Regions from separate parts of the Homo sapiens genome. Here region 2 is linked to region 1. The links are contacts of gene promoters, found by promoter capture Hi-C in blood cells and fetal thymus (Javierre and others, 2016). All regions are on one chromosome and are shown on one strand. The core of a region is centred on a gene start or on the middle of the fragment in contact, and the rest is flanking DNA. Distances in the headings are between cores, read along the strand shown. Region 1 holds the start of ATG9B (autophagy related 9B). Region 2 overlaps ZNF862 (zinc finger protein 862).

The links. Contacts are between HindIII fragments. The CHiCAGO score rates a contact against its expected background, and 5 or more counts as called.
Region 2: a contact is called between a fragment that was not itself captured here and the fragment with the promoter of ATG9B in region 1, in 1 of 17 cell types (non-activated CD4 T cells). The highest score is 5.3, in non-activated CD4 T cells.

Annotation. Positions count from the first base shown.
Region 1 is chr7:151,021,532-151,028,570 of GRCh38, forward strand. ATG9B (autophagy related 9B) reads right to left here and starts at 2,963. Exons shown (of 14, transcript NM_001317056.2): 1 at 2,343-2,963; 2 at 2,156-2,199; 3 at 1,914-1,978; 4 at 1,514-1,675. The coding sequence starts at 2,892. LOC124901777 (a long non-coding RNA gene) reads right to left here and starts at 6,727. Exons shown (of 3, transcript XR_007060593.1): 1 at 6,432-6,727; 2 at 5,276-5,481; 3 at 3,464-3,502. ABCB8 (ATP binding cassette subfamily B member 8) reads left to right here and starts at 6,919. Exons shown (of 16, transcript NM_007188.5): 1 at 6,919-7,039. The coding sequence starts at 6,985. RefSeq lists enhancers at 3,874-4,478, 5,084-5,687, 5,688-6,292, 6,898-7,039, 6,942-7,039. The HindIII fragment of the contact is 8,592 bases long and covers 1,406-7,039 here.
Region 2 is chr7:149,862,842-149,869,880 of GRCh38, forward strand. It overlaps ZNF862 (zinc finger protein 862), which reads left to right. Exons shown (of 8, transcript NM_001099220.3): 8 at 1,268-4,638. The coding sequence ends at 1,443. It overlaps ATP6V0E2-AS1 (ATP6V0E2 antisense RNA 1), which reads right to left. Exons shown (of 4, transcript NR_027040.1): 4 at 4,853-7,017. Among named protein-coding and RNA genes, the nearest start is that of ATP6V0E2-AS1, 7.5 kb to the right of the region's middle. The HindIII fragment of the contact is 5,608 bases long and covers 1,175-6,782 here.

The sequences.
Region 1 (7,039 bases), core at 1,713-4,212:
AATGCTTTCTGATGTTTTCATTCTTGTACTCTGAGAGTACAGTGGAGTTTTCCAGAGGCTACAAGACACGTGAACATGTCACATCACACTGACAGCTGATGAAATGTGTGCTTGTACACTCTTTTTTTTTTTTTTTGAGATGGAGTCTTGCTGTGTCGCCCAGGCTGGAGTGCAGTGGCGCAATCTTGGCTCACTGCAACCTCCACCTCCCGGGTTCAAATGATTCTCCTGTCTCAGCCTCCAGGGTAGCTGGGACTACAGGCGCCCGCCACCACACCTGGCTAATTTTTGTATATTTTAGTAGAGACAGGGTTTCACCATGTTGGCCAGAATGGTTTTGATCTCCTGACCTTGTGATCCGCCCGCCTCGGCCTCCCAAAGTGCTGAGATTACAGGTGTGAGCCACCACGCCCAGCCGCACTCTTACATTTTAAAGTTGTTCTCAGCTACAATTTCCTTCTTTTTTTTTTTTCCTTTTTATTGAAACAAGGTCTCTCTCTGTTACCCAGGCTGTAGTGCAGCAGTAGAAACATAGCTCCTATCTCCCTGCCAAATAACGGCCCAGGTCTGGAACAGTTATTTGGTTGGTTGGCAAAGAGAACATTGCAATCCATGCTTCAGGGAGGAAGGTTGTGAAGGCAACAATGAAAATGAATCGTCTGCTGGGAGGGAGGAGGGTGTAGGGATGCTGCAGTGATCAGAGACAGTCACTGTCTTAGCCTCCTGACTAGGCTTAGCTAGGACTGCAGGTACGCACCACCAAGCCCAGCTAATTTTTATTTTTTATAGAGATGTGGTCTCACTTTGTTGCTCAGGCTGATCTCAAACTTCTGGCTTCAAGCAATCCTCCTGCCTCAGCCTCCCAAAGTGCTGGGATTACAGGTGTGAACCACTATGCCCGGCCTAATTTTAATTTTTTATAAGGTAAAATGTGGATAGATACGACTCCCATAAACAAAAGCTTTTCAGGATTCTCAACCAATTTTAAGTGTATTAAGATACACTTAATGCACTGTAATTAAGATACACTTAAAAGGCCGGGCACAGTGGCTCACACCTGTAATCCCAGCACTTTGGGAGGCCAAAGTGGGTGGATCACCTGAGGCCAGGAGTTCCAGACCAGCCTGGCCAACATGGTGAAACCCTGTCTCTACTAAAAATACACGTGGTGGTGCACGCCTATAATCCCAGCTACTGGGGAGGCTGAGGCAGGAGAATTGCTTGAACCTGGGAGGTGGAGGTTGCAGTGAGCCAAGACCTCACCATTGCACTCCAGCCTGAGCAACAAGAGTGAAACTCTGTCTTAAAAAAAAAAAAAGATATACTTAATACACTTTAAGTACAACTTAATACACTTAAGTACAACTTAAAGTATATTAAGTGTATTTTTGGTCCTAAGACCAAAAGCTTTGAGAACTGCTGATCTAGATGACGGGACAAAGTGGGGCTCCCGTCTACTCCTCTACCCACTGCCCATGCTTCACCCCCAGGGCCCCACCAGGTTGTCACTAACCTCTCAGCACACTGGGCTGAGGGTAGGATGGCATCTGACAGGGTCACTTTGCTGTGGAACGGCCCAGGTCTGGTATGGTTACTTGGTTGGTTGGCAAAGAGAACATTGTAATCCACGCATCGAAGGAGGAAGGTTGTGAAGGTGACAATGAAAATAAATTGTCTGCCGGGAGGAAGGGGGGGTGCCGGGATGCTGCAGTGATCAGGGACAGCCAGGTGGGCTCCTGCCCCAGCCCCCAGAGCAGCCCATGGTTATCCTCCCTGACCCTGCCCCTGCTGAGCCCTTGGGCTGCTCGGGAAAGCATGGGATGGAAGCAGCTGGCACAATTAAGGAAGCAAAATGACAGAAGGAAGCCATGGGCCCAGGGGACCGAGTTCCGGGCCCGGGCTAAGCGTCTCACCCCAGCTGGAAGACATCCTCCAGCAAGATGCAGGCAAAGCCATTCCGCTGGTGGTAGCTGTAGATGTGGCTGCGTGTCAAGGAACAAGCCTGAGGCACGGGGGGCCTCTCCTGAGGACACCTCCCCTCAGCCCCAACAAGTCTCCCACCCATGACGCCCTCACGGAGTCTCCCTGCCAAGAACAGTGCCAGCTCCAAGAGGACCTTCCCATGCCACCTCTGCAGGCCTAGCGCAAAGGATATCTTGGTGAAGAAACTGTCCAGGTTCTGGATGTGATGCCAGGAGCCTGGGCACAGAGGGGAGAGTGTCAGCCCCTGGCATGTGATCAATTCTCCACGTTCTCAACCCGCTGCCAGAGGCCCAGCCTGGGATAAGTACTGGAGCTCCCAGGCACCACTAACCCTCTCCCACCCACACCCACACACATACCTCGGAGCCCTTCAGGGACATGAAGCAGGGGTTGCTGCTCCTCCCCGTGGATGGGTGAGTCTTGGGACCCCTCAGGGTCACAGTCCTCCAGCCGCTCATAATCCTGTTCAGGGATCAAAGGGCCTACCCGCAGCCCAGGAGAGTCCTGGGGGCACTGCTGTGAGGGAGTGGGGGTTGCCGGGGCCAGGGGTGGGGTGGAGTGGGATCCCCAGGAGGGAGATGCAGAGGCAGGTGTCATTGCAGGTTGAGCCTGTGTTGGGGGGGTGGCTGGGATAGGGAGAGCACTGTGGCAAGACTGAGAAGCCCCTGTCCCCTGTAGCACTGAGCAAGGGGGCCCTGCGGTGGGAGGGGAAAATGAGGAGGGGGAGCTTCTTGTATGAGGGGCAGGGGACAGAGAGAAGATGGAGATCCTCCCTCCCCCAGGTCCCCGGCATGAAGGAGGAGGAGGAGGTGGCAGTGGCATGGGGAGGAGGGGCACCGATCCGGGCCCCAGATCTCCCCACCGCCCCAGCCGCCTTCTTCTCCCCCCCCAGCCCATTCGGCTCACCATCAGGCCACGGCTTCTCCAGAAAGGTTGGAAGGATGGGAGCTGTTGTTGCTTCCACAAAGGTCTGTGACACTGAGCTGGGACTTCAACAGGAACAATGACAACAACATTACTAGGTGACTCAGCCTAGGCAGGCCTCAGGCGTCCCAGCTCTCAGTCACCTGTCTGATCACTCACACCCCTTCCAGGGCAACCTGAGGCCAAATCCCTCAGGGCCTGAGAGGGGCATCAGTTTAAGAGGAGGGGCCAAAGAGCACATTGAGATGAGAAGATTCCTATTATCTCCATCTTCAGACCTTGAATGAATGAAAGATAAAAAGAACAGCAGCCAAAATGACAAAAGCAAAAAGCAAAATCGTGTTAGAGCCAGGTGTGGTGATGTGTGCTTGTGTTCCTAGCTACTCAAGAGACTGAGGTGGGAGGATGGCTTGGTGCAGGTTACACTGGAACAGTATAGGTTACAGTGAGCTAGATCCTGCCCCCTGCCACCCCCCCCAAAAACATCCTATTAAAGGATTGTAGCAGGGCGCAGTACCTCACACTTGTAATCAATCTCAGCACTTTGGGAAGCCGAGGAAAGAGGATTGCTTGAGGCCAGGAGTTCAAGACCAGCCTGGGGAACAGAATGAGAAGACTCCATCTCTACAACAAATCTTAGGACCAAGATGTTAACTATTTCATTTCTTAAGAGTGTACCTCCCCCACTTCCCTCCACACACACACTACAGTGATCAACAGAGAAATGTTTTGTGACCAAAACAGAAAAGAAGAAGTAAAGGGGCCAGGCATGTTGGCTTACACCCGTAATCCCAGGACTTTGGGAGGCCCGGGCGAGAGGATCACTTGAGGCCAGGAGTTCGAGACCAGCCTGAGCAACTTAGGGAAACACCATCTCTACAAAATCTAAAAAACAAACAAAATAATTTTTTTTCTTTTTGAGGCAGTCTCACTCTGTCACCCAGACTGGAGTATAGTGGCACAATCTCGGCTCACTGCAACCTCCGCCTCCCAAGTTCAAGTGATTCTTCTGCTTCAGCCTCCTGAGTAGCTGAGACTACAGGTGTGTGCCACCACACCCAGCTAATTTTTTGTATTTTTAGTAGAGATGGGGTTTCACCATGTTGGCCAGGCTGGTCTTGAACTCCTGACCTCGTGATCCACCCGCCTTGGCCTCCCAAAGTGCTGGCATTACAGGCGTGAGCCACTGCGCCTGGTCAAAAATAAATTTTTTAAAAAGAATAAGAAAAGGTTGCATGTTTTATTGGTCTGAGGTGCTAAGGAAGAGAAGAGGGGAGGCTGACTTTGCAGCCAAGTTGGGGAAAACTAAGAAGAGGAGGTGAAGAAAGGAAAGGCAGCTATCTTGGATTTGAGAGTTGGTTTGGAGAACTTAGAGTAGAAAATTGGGGTTCTCTGAAAGTTCCATTCCGTTTGCATCCTTATCATTTTCAACTGTGACATTCTCTCAAGTCCGGATCCCACTTCTGGGACCCCCTGAAAAGCATCAGGGCTGAATCAGAAGGGAGGACAGCTGTGAGTCTGGGACTTGGAAGGATAATTTGGATACCCAGGGAGGAGCTGAACTGAGTTCCTTGTTGTCACCTCAACAAGGAGGAGGAGACCCAGGCAGCTGGTCTGGTGGCTTGCCCAACGCCATTCTTGAGGCCCTGAATCACCAGGTTTCCTTCTAAAGCCCATTACTGAGATACTGACTCAGCCACCAGGTGTCAAGGTCTCTAGGGCTTAGGCCTAAGGGCTGATGTTGGGGCCAGTACCCCTGAAATGGCGATATGGACACTGTGCTTCCCAGATTGTTCACTGGAGGCAATCATGGAATCACCCACAAAACTTGAATCCAGATGTGCCTGATTTTCTCCTTCTGTGTGGGGTATTGTAGTAGTAGCTCAGGTCTTGCATGCCTTTATCTCAGAGTAGGAGGCAGAGCTATGAAAACAAGACCCTGTCCTTCTAGAGGTAGCAAAATGGAATCCCACATTGCAGAGGGGCCAGGAAATTCCCATAATCTTTCTGAGACATCTGTCAAGATGGGTTATGTGGGGTGTTGTCTAGTCTCTCCCCCACCTCACTCGCCCAATGTCACTCAGTATCGTGGCTATTCCACCATAGTCACAATAGGACCCCCCCATACACCAAGAGCTCCCCAGCTCAACCCCAAACTAATCCTGGGACATTGTCCTACCTAGTTTCACCCTGAATTCATTCTCATTGACAGCCTCCCTACCACCACTCCCAATTCAAGTCGATTTATTTTAAAGGGCACTTTTCCTTGCCAAGCATTTGGAAGGGAAGAGGACAGATGAATAAAACAGAGCCACTACCCAAGAAGCTGCAGCCCAGTGGGGAGACAAATACGCAAACAAGTAATTACAGGGAAGAAACGAGTGGTGCAAACTCTTTGGCAGGAGCCTGAGGCAAGTCATTCTGACCCGGGTGAGGAAGGTATCTGCGAGGCAGACAGATCTGAGGCCGCGCCTTGATAAATTACAGGCCCTCCATACCAATAGTTCTCAATGGCTGAGGCGTAGGGCAAGAGTGTCAGAATCACCGGGGGAGTTCTTCCCCAAGTACACGTGACTGTGGGGAAAAGAAAGAGAGATCAGATTGTTCCTGTGTCTGTGTAGAAAGAAGTAGACATAGGAGACTCCATTTTGTTCTGTACTAAGAAAAATTCTTCTGCCTTGAGATGCTGTTGATCTGTAACCCTACCCCCAACCCTGTGCTCCCTGAAACATGTGCTGTGTCAACTCAGGGTTAAATGGATTAAGGGCTGTGCACGGTGTGCTTTGTTAAACAAATTCTTGAAGGCAGCATGCTTCTTAAGAGTCATCACCACTCCCTAATCTCAAACCACTCCCTAATCTCAAGTACCCAGACACAAAACACTGAGGAAGGCTGCAGGGACCTCTGCCTAGGAAAGCTAGGTATTGTCCAAGGTTTCTCCCCATGTGATGAAATATGGCCTCGTGGGAAGGGAAAGACCTGACCGTCCCCCAGCCCGACACCCATAAAGGGTCTGTACTGAGGAGGATTAGTAAAAGAGGAAGGAATGCCTCTTTGCAGTTGAGATAAAAGAAAGGCTTCTGTCTCCTGCTCGTCCCTGGGCAATGGAAATGTCTCGGTGTAAAGCCTATCTCTACTGAGATAGGGGAAAACCGCCTTAGGGCTGGAGGTGGGACAGGCTGGCAGCAATACTGCTTCTTAAGGCATTGTGATGTTTATGTGTATGCACATCAAAAGCACAGCATTTTTTTTTTTACCTTGTTTACGATGCAGAGACGTTTGTTCACGTGTTTACCTTCTGACCTTCTCTCCACTATTATCCTATTATCCTGCCATACCCGATAATGATCAATAAATACTAAGGGAACTCAGAGGCTGGTGCCGGCGTGGATCTTCCGTAAACTGAACTCCGGTCTCCTGGGCCCATTTTTCTTTCTCTATACTTTGTCTCTCTGTCTCTTTCTTTTCCAAGTCTCTCCTTCCACCTAATGAGAAACGCCCACAGGTGTGGAGGGGCAACCCACCCCTTCACGTGACAGATGTCCCAGCAGTTCTGACGCACCTAGGAGAGCGGGGTGGGTGGCAGGGCATATGTACGTGTTTTGAAAAAACTCCCAGTCGATTTTTGTTCATTCCTCCCCCAAAACCCGCGTTCTACACGCCCTTGAGACGACGGGACATCTAGAGATCCTGGAGCCTTGGGAAAATGGCCCGAGGTCGGCGGCTGACGCGTTACTATGGATACTCCATAGCTTGGAGGGCCAGTCGGGCCACACCCTTTGGACGTCACCCGGAGCCCACAGGAGCACCTGGCAAAAGCCAGGCCCACTTCCTGCTCGGCTCCGCCCAGAGCAGGGGGCGGGCGGATAGGCGATTCCCTCCAATCACAGTTCCAAAAGGAGGGGGCTGACAACATATCCTCCAATCACAGCTTGAAGTGAGATTGATGTGTCTTTTCACCAATCACCGCCAAGGCGCGAGGGGGTTGTCGGGATGGGGGCGGGAGCCAACATAGAGCCCTCAGTGGGATGAGGGTGAAACTGCTATTGCCGGCGGCTCCTGTTTTACCGCGTCAGCATGCTGGTGCATTTATTTCGGGTCGGGATTCGGGGTGGCCCATTCCCAGGCAGGC
Region 2 (7,039 bases), core at 2,729-5,228, 1.2 Mb before region 1:
AAAACACTCAGGACAATGCCTGGCAGGTGGTGCAAATGGTACTAGTTAAAGGTCAAGACCACTGCTGGGAGTAAGGAGAGGGCTGACCAGCCCCAGGCAGCGCCATCACATTCTAAGTGGGGCTGTATAGACTCTGGACCGTGCAGGAATTTTCAAGAGGGAAGAGGTCCATGTGGCTGTGGAGGAGGTGAGATGCGGAGGAGATGGTGGGGCTTTCAGGCAGAAATCTCACGGGGCAGGGGAGAACAGAAACAGCCTCTCTGGACCGGAGGGCTGGGGTCAAGAACTTGCTTGAGGGGGAAGCTGTATTAGAAGGGAGGGCAAGTTACTGAAAGCCACAGACAGGAAATTTTTCTCTTCAAGTAGTCACTGAAAACCAAAGAAAATATGCCCATTGTTGGGGTTCTCCAGACCACTCGCGACCACTTGACAAGGATGGAGCAGTGCTCTCTCTCCTCGCGTCTCTAGCTGGCCTCCTTCCGGCTGTTGCTGCTCCCAGTGCTCTCTCTCCTCGCGTCTCTAGCTGGCCTCCTTCCGGCTGTTGCTGCTCCCAGTTTTCACCTCTGAGTCTGTGGTCACCAGAAATGGGACTGGATCTCATGGCTGACAGAGGCTCTGTAGGAAGCAAGGTGGCCCTGAAGCCACAGTAGGGCAGGTGGGGATAAGAAAAGAGACCCCTCACTGATAAGAGAAAGGGAAAGCCGAGAGAGGGCTGGGTGAGTTGCTCTGTGTCCAGCCCTGTGGGTGCTAAGGAGAAAAAAATGATGTCAGGTGTGCCCTGATGCGAGTTACTCTTTCCACAGGGACAACAGGACCAGCACAGATTGGTCCAAACACTGCCAAACTACGCACCGCTGCCTCCTTCCAGGCAGGGCTCTCAGCCTTGGCATTGTTGATGCTGGGGCTGGGTAATCTCTGTTGGGGGCCCTTCCTGTTCACTGTGGGAACTTGAGCAGCATCCATGGCCTCTACCTATTAGATAACCACTGGATACCAGTAGCACACACCCCATTTGTGACCACAAAAATCATCTCCAGACATTGGCAAATGGCCCCTGGGGGACAAAATCGCCCCCAGTTGAGATCCCCTATCTCAGGATAAAAGAATGAACAGAGTAGCAACAGATGAGGGCTGCAAAGAGCAGTCGTGGTCCTGACTTCAGTCTGTTCTGCCAAGCTTTCCTCACCAAACAGCCCCTGGGCGAAGCTGGATGTGGAAGGCGGTCACTGTCAGTCAGTCTAATTGTATTCTCCTTCCTCCCTCACAGGCGCCAGGCTCAGGAAGGAGGAGATGGGAGCCCTCTATGTGGAGGAGCCCAGGACCCAGAAGCCACCCATCCTGCCCTCCAGGGAAGCAGCGGAGGTTCTGAAGGACTGCATCATGGAGCCTCCCGAGAGACTCCTGTATCCCCACACCAGCCAGGAGGCCCCCGGGATGTCCTGAGGGACAGGGAGTCCTTGGGACTGCCTTGGAGACGCCTCTGTGATCACTGGGACAGGCTCTGCAGATTCTAGGCTGCCCTAGGATCTTCTGCTGGTGGCGATGGTCTCTAAGCACCAGGAAGTGGGCAGTGGCATCCCAGAGCAGCAGGGGTATCAGGAGGTGCATGACCTGTTTCCTGAGGCCCCACTCAGCACAGCCATGCCTCACAGCACACAAATGTGCCAGAAGGTTCTATATCTCAAGTTCATTTTTAAGGTGCTGCAGAAAATAACCCCATCATGAAAGGTTTCAGCCCCTGAGTTTTGGTGGCAAGAGGAGTGTCCTGGTAGGGGAGACTGTTGGACATCCCTGGGGAATGTTCCAGGGAGGCTGCCCACAGTCTAAGTGGGAATGGGAAAGACCACCTTGTTAGAGGGGGAGGTTGCCCCTGCTCTAGGGACAGCTGGCCTGGCTGCAAGAGCCCCCAGAGGCATTGTTCTGGGACTTCCTACCCTGGCTCCCACAGCAGAAGCAGTGAGGCCGTGGTCTCGTGCGGAACTCTACCTCTTCCCAGGGCTTCCTTTAGGGCGAAACAATCACAAGCCCTTTGCACAGAGCACCCAAGAAAGTTCTCTTCCTGCAGCTCCAGATGGTGGAGCTGGGCTCTTCTGGCAGGGGGTCTGGTGCTTCCCGGAGAGCCGAGCCGCGTTTAACCCGTGGCATGCCCGGCCCGGTTTACCCAGGAGAGGATGGGACGAAGTTGGAGTTGGGAGGCTTGGGATGCAGCCCCAGCTCTGCTGCAGGCAGTGGTCTGATTAATCCCTTCCTCTTTGTGCCTCAGTTTCCCTCTCCATGAAGTGGCAGCAGAGATCCAAGTGCCTGCTGACTCCCCATCTGCCCTAGGATTAGTGAATGAGAGCCTCGAGCTCCCTCAAAGACCTCTGGCTGCAGTGTGGACTTAGCTGCCATCTGCCCCATCCTCGTCCTTAGTGGGACAGGTAGGAATTTGTCTCCAAAGTCCTTGTTGTAGGAGTTGCTCTCTGAATGCACCATCTGCACGACAGGCTAGTCCACTCTTCTCTGAGCTGCCCTGGGGACTCTGCACCAGGATCTCCAGGGCCCACTGAGACATCCCCGAATGGGCGCTCAGTGACAAGGGCTTTGAACAACCTCCTCCAGGGACTTTGGGCCTGCTCTAGCTTCAGAACCACAGAACCACCGCCCTAGAGGCACAGAGGGGCTTCTGGCACTGCTAGGTTCACACCCTCCTCGCCCCGATCTTCCTTCCACCTAAAGTGAAGCACTTTTCCTTCCAAGGGCAGCTCCGTCTTGGCAGGCTCAGGAGGCCGCTTATCAGGAGGAGGATGATTTTGTCTAGGTTCTGCCTTCCTTAACCATGGGCAGGAAATGAGGCAAGTCAGCAGGCAGGGTTTCTCTGCCCTGCCTGATACTTGTTTTAAACAGGCAGGAAGTGGGCGCCATCCATCCCAGCTTGCTTGCTGCCTGGCTCAGGCAGGTCCTGTGCTGTGCTGCAGGCCCCTGTGGGTGGGCCCTTTCTCCATAGTCTGCCGCTTCCCATTCCCAGGGTAGATGCTGGCATCTGAGCACCTGAGTACCCTTCCTATTCCCAGGGTAGAAGCTGCTGTCTGAGTACCCTTCCCATTCCCAGGGTAGATGCTGGCATCTGAGCACCTGAGTACCCTTCCTATTCCCAGGGTAGAAGCTGCTGTCTGAGTACCCTTCCCATTCCCAGGGTAGATGCTGGCGTCCGAGCCCCTCCCTGGTACCGCAGGTACCCTGGTACCCCACCTGCCCTTTCATCCCCACCCCAGTACTTAGCCTTAGCACTGTTGCTTTCGTGTCATTTTCAGTTCTAGTCAGGAATTCCTTTCTTGCTTTCTGCCTTTGACCTGTGGAAATGTCTCCCAGCCCTGTGGGTCTGGCGGTCAGAGGGACCCCACAGGCCTGTGGTGCGGGAGCTCTGGGAGGTGTTACTATCTGCGTGGCTAAGGCACACACAGGCCTCCTTCTCCCCATCACCGTCTCCATGGGCGTTCAGGAACTTGCCCAGGTCAGGCACTGTGGATGTGAACTCGTGGAAAGGGAGGGAGAAAGGCTTTTTTAGGTGGGGCTATAGCCTCTGCCCTACCCACAGGGATTCCACATCAAGGTGCTGTTCCAGCACACATGCTTCCTGCGGCCTCTTCATCCTTGAAGAATCCCTCAGAGCAGGAGGCCATCCTGTGAGCAGCCGTGAGTGGGTCTCTGTGGGAGTAGTTCTGGAGCTGAGGTGGAAGCTAGGGGAAGCAACTCGCCCTCTCCACGTCAGCATCAGCGTGCTCCGAGGACACCGGCCAGTGCCTTCCTTAGGTGGTGGGAAAGGGGGGTCCCTGTGCAGCGGGGCCACTGAGAATGCTGTTTGTCATAAAATTTGCACTACCCGATTTCTCAAGGGGCACAGGCCTGCTCCGTTCCCCTTTGTCAGCCAATGGCCAAGAAGGAAGAAGATGACTGCCATCTTATTCCTGAACTTCCTCATTCAGGACCCCCGTGGAAACACAGTGAGCATCCTTATCAGAGGCCCTGGCCCAGGCTGGCCCCTTTGCTTTGTTTGGAGAGGCTGGCTGAGTTTCAGCCCCTAGTGCTGGAGACCCCCTTGTTGGAGAGGCTTCCTGTTTATGCCTCACAAGAAGAAAAACCACAGGGCTCTGGGAGGGGAAGAAGCATGCACTCCCGCTTTGGCTGGAGTCCCAGCGCTTGTCGCCACCCTCCTCCTTGCCTGTAGTCTTGACAGCATCCGTATGTACGTGTCCTGGCATTTCCCCTCCCTCTCCCTGATGACTGATACCCACCGGGTCTGACATTCCAAGTAACCAGTATGTAACTGGTAGTTTGATCCCAATAGCCATAGCGACTCCAGGTGGGAGTGAGGGAGCCCAGCCCCCTGTCCTGGAAGATACCTTAGAGTATGTGACCGCGCTCCAGACCCTTGCTTCTCTCTCCTGCAGAGGATGAGTTTCTAGGGTGCTAAGTACCTATCAGAACAGTGTGGAGGGGCGGGTCCCTCATACAGGTGTGTGCTTAGCCAAATACAGTAACTGTGACTGGCCCAGGGATGTTCTCTCCTCTATTTTCAAAGATGAAAGGAGGTTTTAAAAACCATGTTTGATTCCTAACCTTTTGCTACCTGAATAAAGCAGAGTCTATTTCAACACATCTCTGTCTTGTGTGTCCCTAAGCGAGGACCAGGAGCTCAGAGAAGCTGACAGAACGAGCTCTGCTCTCACTCACGAGGGGACAGGGCCAGGAACAGAGGTGGGCAGGGGAAGTGCCTGTGTATTCACCTGATTTTTGTCTTTCAGTTTCTTTCCTCTCTAGTCCTTCAAAGTGAGCTCAATCATTTTTGCCAGTTAGAAGGTAAAGATGAGAGTTGGCTGTTTGGTGAGTTATAATTAAGGGCTTGGCTGCCTTTTCTGGAGTACTGCATAGTTTACAAAGTGCTTTCACATACATGATCTAATTTGGTTTACTGAACTTAGAAAGGTAGACTTTCAAGGAAAAAACATCGATTTCCACCAATAGTAAAAGCTACTGCATCAGACCTGTCACTCAACAGCGCTCCTTGAGGCCTAGCTCCTGAGATCCCTCTGGCGAGCCCTTGCGGCTCCACATCCTCGGGACGGCACGCTCCCACGGGACTGGAGCAAAGGTTTCAGAGACTCGGGATACAGCCAGATCTCTTCGGTGAGGAGACTCAGTCTTACTCGAGTGTATGTGATTTTTAAAAAAGACATTGAAACAACTATGGAAACAGAGGCAAAGGCAGCAAGGCTTTGGGTTTGCGACTGGGAATCCGTGCGGCCTCCCTTTGGTGAAGACCTGACCCCGTGGTGGGGGTGAACAGGGTTTCCTTGACCCCGTCCCAGGGTTCCCTTCAGGACAGATGGATTTCACTAGGGGAAGCGTGATGCTGGTAGCCTCCACTCTCAGGCTGGGCAGGGTAGGCTCCCAGGGAGGCAGCTCCCAGCGCAGCCTCTTCCATCACTCCGGCTGGAGCTAGAAGGAGAGAAGTGAGCTGAGGCTCTAGAAAGTGCTGCACTCCTGCCTTTCTTTTTCCCAAGGGTGCTCTTGACATCTGGAGTGCAGTCAGCAGGCCTTTCCGAGTGGGCTGGCTGCCTCAGATGCCTCAGTCCCTGTTGCTGGGGATGCTTCGGTGGGGCCTCCTCACTGTGGGCCTTCTCTTGGGTCAGTGTGATCCTCGTGTCCCTTCCCTGTGCCAGCGACACTCGTGGGCTTCACGTGGCTGGCCCCTGCTCCCAGGGCTCTTGAGATGCTGCCTCTGACTGCAGCTCCTGCCACACTGGCACCTGTGTGGCCGCTGCTCCCCTCTGCACCTGGGAATAGCTGCCCAGAGACTTCCTGTTTTGAACCTTTTGCCTTGCTCAGGCAGCCAGCAAGGGCCCTGGCACTCACAACAGAAGGGCCCTGCAGTGCTGCGGCTCTGCTGGCGGGCCAGGACAAGCTGTGGGGCGCAGACACACTGGGCACACTCCAGACAGGCACAGGGCCTCTGGGCAGTGAGTTTGCAAGTGTTTTGTGGTCCTGGATCATGCACAGGCTTCTTGGCAGCCAGGAGAGGCTGTCTCTGCATTTAGTGTGCACACCTGAAAGAGCGGCCCCTCACCCACTAGGCAGTGTCCTCCCACATCCCCAGGAGGGTCTTCCTGTGCCATCTGAGGTCCACTTAGTGGAAAGCCTTTGCCACACCAGGACACTTTCAGGACTACTCCCCCACGTGGCTGTGCTCATGGTGGCCAGGGCTATATGGCTCTTGAAGCTCTCCACACACTTGGCACAGATGGATGGCTTTTCCAGTGGAATCAAAAGGACTCAGGCATTCTGAGGCCAGTCTGGCCTTGGGGTTTTTCAGCTTCCCAGAAGCCTGCAGAATCGTTCTGGGGGGTTCCCAGTTGCCTCCAGAATCATCTTCAGTCTTGTTTCTGACTGTGTTACCAAATACTGTGGAAGAAACTCAGATGTTAGCCTAGTGATGGGGACACACTTCTTTTGTTCAGTGTGACCTGCTCAGCCTCTAGCCCCCAGCCCCAGCGAGATGACGGATAAGGCAGCGTCCTGTGGATGCCAGAGCCGGGGCCAAGTGTGGGTCAGCATCCCAGCTCAGAGGAGCGGCCCAGTTTGTCTGAGAACACTGAAGTCCCAGAGCCCTGGGGAGGGGCTTCTGACCAGCACTCCTCCTGCTCTCATTCCAACACACACAAAGGGAATGTCCTGGTCCAGGGAGCCAGGGCTCTCTTGCTGCCATGTGAATAATTCCCTGTAGCAGCCACTGCTAGACAGCAAGCTTGGGAAGCCTTCTTATGCAGAAATCAAAGTCATTTTTATAAAAAGTGTCACAGAGTCCCTTATGAAGACAGCTGGACAGAGCAGGAGCCGACCCTTCCCTGACTGCCCAGTTCAGTGAGCCCGGTAAAATATCTGCCGTCAGCAGCCTGCCATGAGGTGCAGTGAGGACCTTCTACTTCATCCCTCCAAGCTGAGTCGTATCATAAAATGCATACTTTATGTTCCTTCTGCCTGTAGAGAATCAGAAAGCACA